Regions from separate parts of the Homo sapiens genome. Here region 1 is linked to region 2. The links are contacts of gene promoters, found by promoter capture Hi-C in blood cells and fetal thymus (Javierre and others, 2016). All regions are on one chromosome and are shown on one strand. The core of a region is centred on a gene start or on the middle of the fragment in contact, and the rest is flanking DNA. Distances in the headings are between cores, read along the strand shown.

Region 1 (5,666 bases), core at 1,753-4,252, 540 kb before region 2:
AAGAAGTAGGATGCCTTGGAGGGCAAGTGAAGAAAGCGTTTTAACACAAGAGACTGATCGAGGTCACTGCTCACCTTGACGAGCAGTCTCAGCGGGGTAACAAAGATGATATCTTTATTAGAGCGGACACCAGAAAGAATGAGAGGTGAGGAAATAGAGGCAGCAAGTGCAAACCATGAAATTTTGCTATAAAGGGAAGTGGTAGCTGGGGGAAAGGATGTGGGTTCAGGAGAAGGTTTTTTCCTTTTTTTTTAAATGATGGGAGGCATTTTGAACTGGAAAGAAGCCAACTGGGACTTGGGTGTGATCTGAAGAAGAGAAGATGGCCTGTACCATAGTCTGAGAGTTAAATGGCACCTTTATTGATTATTGATATAATACCCTATGGCTTGCTTATAGTACAGTTACACCTGTGTTGTGTGATAGGGAGCCTTGCCAGTGGAAGCAAATTGGTCTAAGATAGAAGCTTGGTTTTGACTTGATAGCTGCCCATAAGAGGGCAGCAGAGCAGAGCTAGGAAATTAAAAACAACAACAACAATAATAACAACAACAAAGAAAAACTCTGCAAGGTGATCCCTGCAGGGTAAAGACTTTTTAGCAAACTCTTTAAAGATATTAAAGAAAGTTCAGCCCTTCCTCCCCAGAGCCTCAGTGCTAGATTCTTGCTTAGAGACCCCAAAGGCTCCAGACTTGGGAATACAACTGGTAACATGGCAGACTATGAGCCCTGCAGGGGAGGGAGCAACTGTAAAGCTGATTGAGTGTAAAAGAATGGCTAGTACAGAAGGAAGATGTAGCTGTTATATCGAAGCATTAAAAACAAACAAACAACAAACTAGGCCAGGTGGGGGCCGGGCACAGTGGCTCACGCCTGTAATCCCAGCACTTTGGGAGGCTGAGGTGGGAGGATCACTTGAGGCCAGGAGTTTGAGACCGACCTGAGCAACATAGCAAGACCCTGTTTCTAAAAAAAAAAAAAAAAAAAAAAAAAAATTTACAAGCTGATTGTGATGGCACACACCTGTAGTCTCAGCTACTTGGGAGTCTGAGGCAGGAGGATCACTTGAGCCCAGGAACTCCAGGTTACAGTGAGCAATGATCATGCCACTGCTCTCCAGCTTGGGTGATAAAGCGAGACCCTATCCCTCTCTAAAAAACAAGACAAAACAATAACAATAAAACAAATTAGTCTGGACCATTGTCATTATGAACAGACTATTTTTTCAAAGTAATCACTGCAATTTACTATCATTCCATAAAAGCCATTGATGCTGAATTCCAATGTGTGTGGCTAAATTTTACCAAAAAAACCTAGTATAGAAGGACTTAATTTATGCTGGGAGGAAGGGAGACACTCATGCTGAGATTGGACCTTTAATGTGAATATTCACAGCAGGTAATATGTACATAGTGCTTTATAGTTTACAAAATATTTTACATTTTTTGGTCCTTTTTAGTTGTGATAATTACTGAGACCCTTGAGCAAGTATCATTGATATTTTTCTCATTTTCATTTTTCTGATTTAAAAAGGCTTAGAGAAAGGTTATCTGACTTTTCCAATACCACACAGCAAAGGAATAGCTAAGCTATTCCTTCAGGCTCAGAACTTTTGTCACCATAGCATTAGATCTACATAAAGAGATGGGGATGGAGAATGTGTAAAAAGGCATCACGTTTAGGTTGAATGAAAAGCCAGAGAGTAGTTAAGTTTGGTGGTAAACAGAAGATGAAAGGAGGTAGTGAAGAACTGTCTTCTATTAATATTATTATTATGATTTTTTTAAGAGATAGAATCTTGATCTGTTACCCAGGCTCTGTGGAATGCACTAGTATGATCATAGCTCTCTGCATCCTTGAACTCCAAGGCTCAAGCAATCCTCTTGCCTCAAACTCCTGAGTAGCTGGGACTACAGGCACATATCACCACACCCAGCTGATTAAAAAAAATTTTTTTTGTAGAAACAAAGTCTTGCTATGTTGCCCAGGCTGGTCTCGAATTCCTGGCCTCAAGTGATCCTAGCACCTCGGCCTCCTAAAGTATTGGGATTACAGGCATGAGCCAACGTACCTGGCCTTATATTATTTTTAAACTTATTTATATAGAAGAATCAAATTTACTCTGTGCAACTTTGGAGAGTTGACTAGGACAGGAGAGCCCACTCAATATTAGAAAAAGAGCTCTACAAAAAAGACATTGTTACGTTACATTCCTGAAATGTTGAAATAGGGGCTAGAGGAATATTTGACAAAGCTGTAGAGAGAAATAGTTGACCTTATGACCTCTAAAATTCTTTTCAAGATATTTTATCTGCAAAAACCTGAATAGCAACAACTATAGTTCCACAACACTCTAGTTCTACAGAAGGAGGGTGGGATGTTACACTGTGCTTTCATGTTTCAATAATTATATATCTATCCATGCATGTCCACTTCTGCTTGATGCCACTGAAGTGGGACCTGAGGAGCTGGGGTGCTAGGGCAGAAAGAGTAAGGTCTGTGCCCGATCCTAGACAAAAGTGGAAGCAATTCACTGCTTCATCCATCACGGAAGGGCAACTCTTTAGCTTAGCAAACTGAGAAATTTTCAGGCTCAACACCAGCAGGAATTCAATTTGCAGCAAGATAGACCTCAGGGGATTGAGGCAATGATTCAGAGAGGATGGGTGGGGTAGGGTTACACAGGAACTTTAGAGAAAGAATCGTTTGTGGGTGGAAGCCTTGGGCAGAGGTGCACTCAGTAGAGAAGAAAGCCATTTGTTCCAGAACAGCAGTTTGAAAGGGGTGTGTTTTGTGTGGGCAATGGTGTATGAGGAAAGGGTTTGTGGGGAAGAAGCGTGTGGGGCTACTAACAGGCACAGAAACACTTGTTGAGAAATGTTGTTCATAGGGGGATTGCTTTGCTGGGGCCCAGGAGCAGGTGGTTTGGTGCAGTGAAAGAGGCCAGAGGGGCAGAAAGAAGGGTCCTAGCTGTGGCCTTAAACACACACATACACACACACACACACACACACACCAAAAAGCAAGGAAGAACCCCTTATCCTCTCAGCCAAGATAAGCAAGCGCTGTTACCAGCTAGGTGTGCTTACTATGGATTTTATACATTTTAGAGAAAATTTCTAATGCCCATTTGTCCTGAACTTTTTACTTGGAATATCGTTAAGTTTACGGAAAAGTAGAAAGGATCATGTAATGAACACTAGTGTACCTCTCACCTAAACCATCAATAGTCAATAATCTGCTACATACATTTGTTTTCTCCTGAGCCATTTGAAAGTAAATTGCTGCAGACAATTTGCCTATCAGTCCATTTTTGAATATATTGGCACGCATCTCTAAGAATAAGGACATTCTCTTACATAATAGCATTGCCATTATGAAGATCTTACCTATGAAGATCCACATTAATTCATAAGATCTGCATGTGTGTTACTTATCAGTACGTCTTATAATGGATTCTGAATGCTTTCCCTTTTCTTATTTCTCTAGCTGTCATCTTTGAAGGTAAAACCTCGACTGCATATCTGGCCAGCCAGGCCAGGCCAAAGTACCTGTATACTGGGTGAGGGGATAAGAAAGACTCTCTCAAAGAGCACAGGAACCTGGAAGCCTGTCAGAGGTCACCTCTCACGGAAGCCCAGGACGCTTCCTTCCTGCTGAGCTAATCTTAACTGCTGACCTCCACGCATTGCTCAGGGCTCCCTCCCTCCCTTCTTCCCTATTTCCTTCCTTCCCTTTCCTCTCCTTTCCTGTCTCTTTCACCAAACCTTAACGGACAACTCTTCTGTGCTAACTTCTGTGCCAGTGTATTAGTCCGTTTTCATGTTGCTGATAAAGACATATCAGAGACTGGGAAGAAAAGGTGGTTTAATTTGACTTACAGTTCCACATGGCTGGGGAGGTCTCACAATCATGGCAGAGGGTGAAAGGCACTTCTTACTTGGAGGAGGCAAGAGGGAATGAGGAAGATGCAAAAGTGGAAACCCCTGATAAAACCATCAGATCTCGTGAGACTTATTCACTACCACGACCAAACCATATCAGCCAGTATCTGCCATCCCAAGTGAACTTAGTCTGTGAACTCAAAATAGTGCTGGCCAGGCATGGTGGCTCACGTCTGTAATCCCAGCGCTTTGGGCGGCCAAGGCGGGGGGATCATGAGGTCAGGAGATCGAGACCATCCTGGCTGACATGGCGAAACCCTGTCTCCACTAAAATACAAAAAAATTAGCAGGGCATGGTGGCACATGCCTGTAGTCCCAGCTACTAAGGAGGTTGAGGCAGAAGAATGGAAGAATGGCTTGAACCCAAGAGGCAGAGGTTGCAGTGAGCCGAGATCGCGCCACTGCCCTCCATCCTGGCAACAGAGTGAGACTCTGTCTCAAAAAAAAAAAAAAAAGTTCAGAAAAGGCAGAGTTTCTTCTGGCGAGTCATTCCTTTCTTTGGCTCTGTGACCCGCCCTTTAGGAGCATCGTGCAGATGGACTGGCTTGTCCACCTGGTGGCCCTATCAGGGTATATGGGCTTGGCATGGAAAAAGCCTCTGCTCCTTGGATCACTAATATTACCTTGATCATCATCATTACCTGACCAGAGTACTAGACACAGTTTCATGAAGAGAAAGCAAACCCTTTCATCCTGAAATTTTAACTTAGTTGCTCCTCCCATGGGGTGATTCTTGGTGCAGGGGAGATATCTATTTGCAAATTGAGGGGCATTTGTGTCTACCTTCTTGACTTAGGTGGTTTCTGTTTTGTTTCTCGTTATGGTTGTTGGCTGTCCTTTCAAGATTATTTCTACGCGTCAAAAAGTCTGTGAGCTAATTTTAACATGTCAGGCATCTTACTGGAAACCACACATTTACTCCGAATAAAGCTACAACATGCTAACTAAAACTAAGTTTGTTTGAACTATTCAAACCATTGTGGTCATCTCATTCTTACTAAAAACCTTTTCTGGTAAGTTTCATTTATTTATTTATTTTTATTAGTACAAATGGGAAAATAAAGTGGTGATTCATAGGTATAAATATTATATGGCAAAATTTCTTCAACACTTGAAATTATTAGTACCACCTGAGAATTACATCAGGTCAAATCAGCATTTGGTAAATAGTAGTCACCATTTGTAGAATTAAACCATCCAAACTTCTAATCTATCACCTAGGGCTAAGGACTCACACACTTCAGCTCTGGGGACCAAAATGCTGGCTTCAGGAAGCATAATGATTTTAGCCTCGATACAGTGATGGCATAATCAATCAAGTTGTATCCTGCCTCTTTTCTCTCACCTAAATTTGATTTGTGTGATTATTTATTGCAGACAGTTTTGCAAGCTGACTTTAATCCTATCTTGGAATGAGGTGGAGTATAAAAGAATACAAATCAACAAACATGCTAATGTATTTTAAGAAGGAGATAGGAGAGTTTGGAAATTGGAAAGGGAAATTCTAAATTTTGAGAATTGCTTTCTACTAAACCATCATTGTCCAGGAGTAACACACTAGCTCACTTCTTAATTTCAAGTCAGAAACATTTTCCCAAGCTTATCCTGGCCCGAAGGAACTGTGACGCTGCTGACCACTGATGCTCACCAAGCAATCATCTCTTTGAGGTTTGGTCTCCCACTTGAGTCAGGGAGAGAATGTATGGGGCAGGTTTATTTTCA
Region 2 (5,241 bases), core at 1,567-4,066:
TCTAGACATTTGTGATGAGAAATGACATTTTGACATTTGTCAAGAGAAGGTACAAACACAGGACAAGTTATATATAAGATCAATCATTTGGACAGTAAGTCCTATAGCAGTAGTTTCCCACCCTTCTCAAGTGGGAGATTAGAGATTTCCAACCCCACATAATAGGTATAGTATCCCCTGATGGAGAAAATGCAAACTATGAATTCATCAATACTTTGAAGTAAGTTTCTGTCACAACATCTGTAAATGCGGTAATACCTACACATGCAAGGCATATTATTTACTCAGTTCACACTCACTCTTTATACATACAGATTCTAGGGCCCTTTGCAAGATTTCAGAAATCCTCACGCCAGGAGGCTGTGGCCCACAGTCTAGAAATCATTATCTTACTATAATTCAGAGAAGGAAAAGGGCTTTGTTCCTAGGATGAACCACCAAATGAGAAGTGCAACCATGGAATACTTGAGTGGGAGTGAGGGGCATTCTATCCAGGCACAGAGAGAGCATGAAGGACAGTTTGGAGGCAGAAACATTCAGGTTACTTTGGAGAACTGAATAGTAGCTTCCCATGTATTATCCCCTAATACCGTAAGGTTAGTGTTATCGTCCTCACTGTACAGATGAGAAAATTGAAACTCAGAAATGTTTAGTGAGTTGCCCAAGTCCACTCAGCTAGTAAATGACATATCTAGGATTCATTTCCCCACCCCGGTCCATTCCACTCCAGGGACTATGCTCCTTCCACTCCCAAGTAGCCTGTCAAGTGTATAGCAATTAGGCCATATGACCCCAGCTGCAGAATAATCTGGTTCTTAGGTTTTTTGTTTCTTGGGGTTCTTTTTGTTTTGTTTTGTTTTGTTTTGTTTTTGAGATGGGGTCTCTCTGTCAGCCAGGTGGGAGTGCGCTGACACAATCCTAGTTCACTGCAGCCCCAAACTCCCGGGCTCAAGCAATCCTCCCACTTCAGCCTCCTCAGTAGCTGGGACTACAGGTGCATGCCACCACTCCCAACTAATTTTTTTATTATTATTTATTTATCTAGAGACAAGGTCTCACTTTGTTGGCCTCCCAAAGTGCTGGAATTATAGGCATGAGCCACTGTGCCCTGCCCAAGAATAATGTTGATGAGAGGTGGGTGATGTTTGGTAGGGTAGATTGGGGCCTAGTTAGTTGTATAGGTCCTTGAATGCTAAGCAAAAAGATTTAGCAATGAGAAGCTATAGTATATCTTGAGCCACAGAATATTCTTGAGCAGGAGTAATAAAAAATACTGTTTTGTGAAAATTAATCTGATGGGGAGGAGGTAATAGAGATGGATTATGGGTGGGTGGGAGTGAAGAATTAGATTTAGAAAAGAGATCATTTAGAAACCAGAGTAGTCATCCAACTATGAGATGATAAGAACTTGAATAAGGGTGGAAGCAATAGGAATGGAAAGAAAGGCATAGATTTGTAAGACAAAGAAAAAAAATAGAAAGTGGTGGCATTATTAGATGGGAAAAGGAGGAAAGTCACCAGTCTCGTTGCTCTGTTTTAGGATCCGTGAGGTTCATCTATCTGTAGTGCTTCTGGCCAGAGAAAAGGCCGAAGAGAGAAAACCCTGAGGAACATCTTTGACCTGCATAGAAACTTATCTGAAGATTTTCAGAATCTGAGCCTCACCCTCAGTCTATCCCAGTTTTATCCTGACCTGTCCACATCTGTTATACTCCAAGGCTTGCTGGGCCCAACACTGGAAGCTATTTAATGTTTCTATTGCGACTGGCCTTTTAAAGCCAGTGGGATTCTCCATGCTACACTTGAGCCTGGAGACTAGAAAACATGACAGCCTGTTTTCATTAATCCGTTTTCATTAACTGCTGTGGTCTGAATGTTTATGTTGTCCACAGATTCATATATTAAAATCCTAACTCCCGGCTGGACGCAGTGGGTCACACCTGTAATCCCAGCACTTTGGGAGGCTGAGGCAGGTGGATCACTTGAGGTCAGGAGTTCGAAACCAGCCTGGCCAACATGGCAAAACCCCGTCTCTACTAAAAATGCAAAAATTAGCCAGGCATAGTGGCTGGGCTAATCCCAGCTACTGGGGAGGCTGAGGCATGAGAGTCGCTTGAATCCTGGGACTGGAGGTTGCAGTGCCCCAGGATCATGCCACTGCATTTCAGCCTGGGCAACAGACAGCGAGACTCCATCTCAAAATAAATACGCAAATAAATAAAATAAAATCCTAACTCCCAAAGTCATGGTATTAGGAGATGGGGCATTTTGGGGGGTGATTAAGTTTTATGAGGGCAGAGCCTTTCTGAATGGGATTCATACCCTTATAAATAGGCCCAAGGGAACTCATTCACCCCTTCTACCATGTGAGGACACAGCAAGAAGGTGCCATCTATGGACCGGAAAGCAGCCCTCACCAAACACTGAATCTGCCAGCACCTTGATCTTAGACTTCTCAGCCTTCAGAGCTCTGAGAAATAAATGTCTGTTGTTTATAAGCCACCCAGTTTGATATTTTGTTCTAGCAGCCCAAACAGACTACAACACCTTCCCTGGGCTCGCCTCAGCTTCTGTTGTGGGGCAGAGCATAAGGCAATTTGACTAGGACCCAGAGGATGGGTAAGCTTGGCTGAAATGATGGAAATGTGATCATCTGAAAAGGTCAGAAAGTTGGCAGTTTGCTCAATTCGGCATGCAAGGTAGGGAGACCAAAAGCCCCCTCCTTTGAAGGCAATGGCTGTAGCTGGGGCCAGAAGTGATGTCACATAACCACTGCTGAGGTCATAGAATCTTCCCTCTCCTCCCTCTGTCTCCTCATTGCCACAGCCAACCGGCTCCCACATATCTGCACACACTTAAATACAAAGGCCGGGAAGGGTCAGACCACCATCCGGGTACTCTAAGGTACATAAAAGAGGTAGGGGAAAGAGAGGATCATTCAGTAGGTAGGATCCACACTGGTATCTCCAATGCTGGGAATGGGAGACTCATGCTGTAGTTGCGTAGGTGCAATGGGAGCTGGGAGGGAGAAAGGAGAGAGCAACAGGGAAGAGGGGAGCTGTTCCTGTTGCTGACTGATTTTACCATAACACTCATCCTCATTACTCCACAGTCCTCCCTCCCCCTTCTCCTTCACCCCCAAGTGTCTCCCACGACTGCCCTCCCCGACCTCTAGCTGACCATGGCATCAGAGGCAGAAAAAACATTCCATCGGTTTGCTGCGTTTGGAGAATCATCAAGCAGTGGCACTGAAATGAACAACAAGAACTTCTCCAAGCTGTGCAAAGACTGTGGCATCATGGATGGCAAGACAGTCACCTCCACGGACGTGGACATCGTGTTCAGCAAAGTCAAGTGAGGAGCCAAAAATATGGAGGTGGGGGTGAGAAGAACCTGCGAGGTAGTTGGCCACGGAAGGGTTCACGTGGTGGAACATTTGCAGTGGGCCTACCAAGCACCACAGGGTACCTGGCGCTGTGCTATCCTTTGTCTTCGAGACACTCACTGATTGATAGGACAAAAGAGGCCAAATCTGAGTGAGGCAAGAGTTGGACCTTGGAAGGTAATGCATTCATGCTCCAAAGTTTCTGGATTTCTGTCTAACTGACCAGGGCCAAGAACGCCCGAACCATCACGTTTCAACAGTTCAAAGAGGCAGTGAAGGAACTGGGCCAGAAGCGCTTCAAAGGGAAGAGTCCAGATGAAGTCCTGGAGAACATTTATGGACTCATGGAGGGCAAAGACCCAGCCACCACTGGCGCTACTGTGAGTGACAGCCTTCATCCCCTTGACCCTACTTCCCTAAATCCCCATTGTTCCAGTCTACCCTCCCTAACCCTGCCAACTGTGTGACTGTAGAGACAGGGCCGAAACAGACTTTAGAGATCATCTAGACATTCCAGAAGTCAGGAAAATGTGGCCCAGAGAAGGGAAGTGACTTGCCCAAGGTCCATGGCTATTTTAATAGTAGATTTAGACTAATTTCCAAGTGTCTAGTATCTGAGCCAGGCAATTAGGGCTTGGTAGCTTTTGGAGGACATTAGTGTAGAGAATTTGGTACCTGATGCCCACTCCTCTTCCAATTCTTATTTAGGGTTTAATCTCAGGCCTCCTGCCTCTCACCTACTCCCTTTTTTAATTGTCCTGTCTGAACTAAAAGCTCTTTCTACAGTGGATATTGAGTCGGGGAGTGGGAGTGAAGTCCTCAGGCAGCAGCCTAGTCAGAATAACTCCTCTGGAAACAAAAAACCTACCCTCCCTCTGCACACGCCACACTCATTCCCACACCACACTCCTCCTCCCCCATGAGTGAACGGCTCTTACCAGAGTACCTGCCCACAGCTGTATCTGGGCCCTAAGAAAGCAGCACCCCATGCCAGTGGCAGAGCAAGAGCTCCAAGCACTTGTTCTAAGTATCTCGGGCCATCTTTGGGGAAGGGATATGACAGCGTAAGGAAAGGAAGAGAGCTCAAATCCATCCCTGGCTTGCAGAAAGCAACAACAGTGGGTGCAGTGGACCGTTTGACAGACACCAGCAAGTACACCGGCACCCACAAGGAGCGCTTTGATGAGAGTGGCAAGGGCAAGGGCATTGCGGGACGGGAAGAGATGACTGACAACACAGGCTATGTGAGTGGTTACAAGGGTTCTGGCACCTACGATAAGAAGACCAAGTAGAGAGGAGCTTCATCTCAGCCTGCTAGCCCCCTGACCCTGCATGTTTAACACCAGGGAGCTTGGAAAACAATAAACATCTGTGTGTGCAGCAGCCAAAATCTCTGTCTGTGAGGGACAGATGAGCCTACTAGTGTAGAGAGAGGGAGAAGAGGCAGCACAGGAGGGTGGGTTCTCCACCACACACCCTTCGCTCTGCTTAGCCTTATGCCTACCAGCCATCAGTTAGCATTCCTCCTCAACAGCTGCTTCCAAGAACAGGATGGAAGAATATATTTGGAGTAAAGAGATGAACCAGATGTGGAGGTAAAAGTATCTACTACTTGTGTTCACACATTACTGATATCCACCTCTCCACCCCCACCCCTCAAAAGGGTGTAGCAATTCCTCACGTGATGGACTATGACTATATCACATATTAGATCCTTCCCTGTCCCTCCACCTTCCTCATCTGTTGCAATTCAGGTTTTTTGGGTGGAGGAGTAGAAGCCAGCTAAGGTTGCCTGACTTCTATTACAAATTTGTTCCAGAGCTGGGGTAAGGGGAGAGTCTATTTTCAACACCCAG

Evidence for each region. The method cuts DNA at HindIII sites, captures the fragments that hold promoters and counts their contacts. A CHiCAGO score of 5 or more calls a contact.
Region 1: a fragment that was not itself captured here is called in contact with the fragment with the promoter of TPPP2 in region 2 in 2 of 17 cell types (M2 macrophages and monocytes); the score reaches 7.4 in M2 macrophages.

The regions. Positions count from the first base shown.
Region 1 is chr14:20,487,060-20,492,725 of GRCh38, forward strand. No RefSeq gene overlaps it. Among named protein-coding and RNA genes, the nearest start is that of RNASE10, 16 kb to the right of the region's middle. RefSeq lists an enhancer at 4,612-4,711. The HindIII fragment of the contact is 5,077 bases long and covers 465-5,541 here.
Region 2 is chr14:21,027,401-21,032,641 of GRCh38, forward strand. It overlaps TPPP2 (tubulin polymerization promoting protein family member 2), which reads left to right and starts at 2,817. Exons shown (of 4, transcript NM_173846.5): 1 at 2,817-2,904; 2 at 3,113-3,354; 3 at 3,612-3,765; 4 at 4,492-5,241. The coding sequence starts at 3,182. The coding sequence ends at 4,677. It also overlaps a transcript of NDRG2 not described here. The HindIII fragment of the contact is 5,962 bases long and covers 2,623-5,241 here.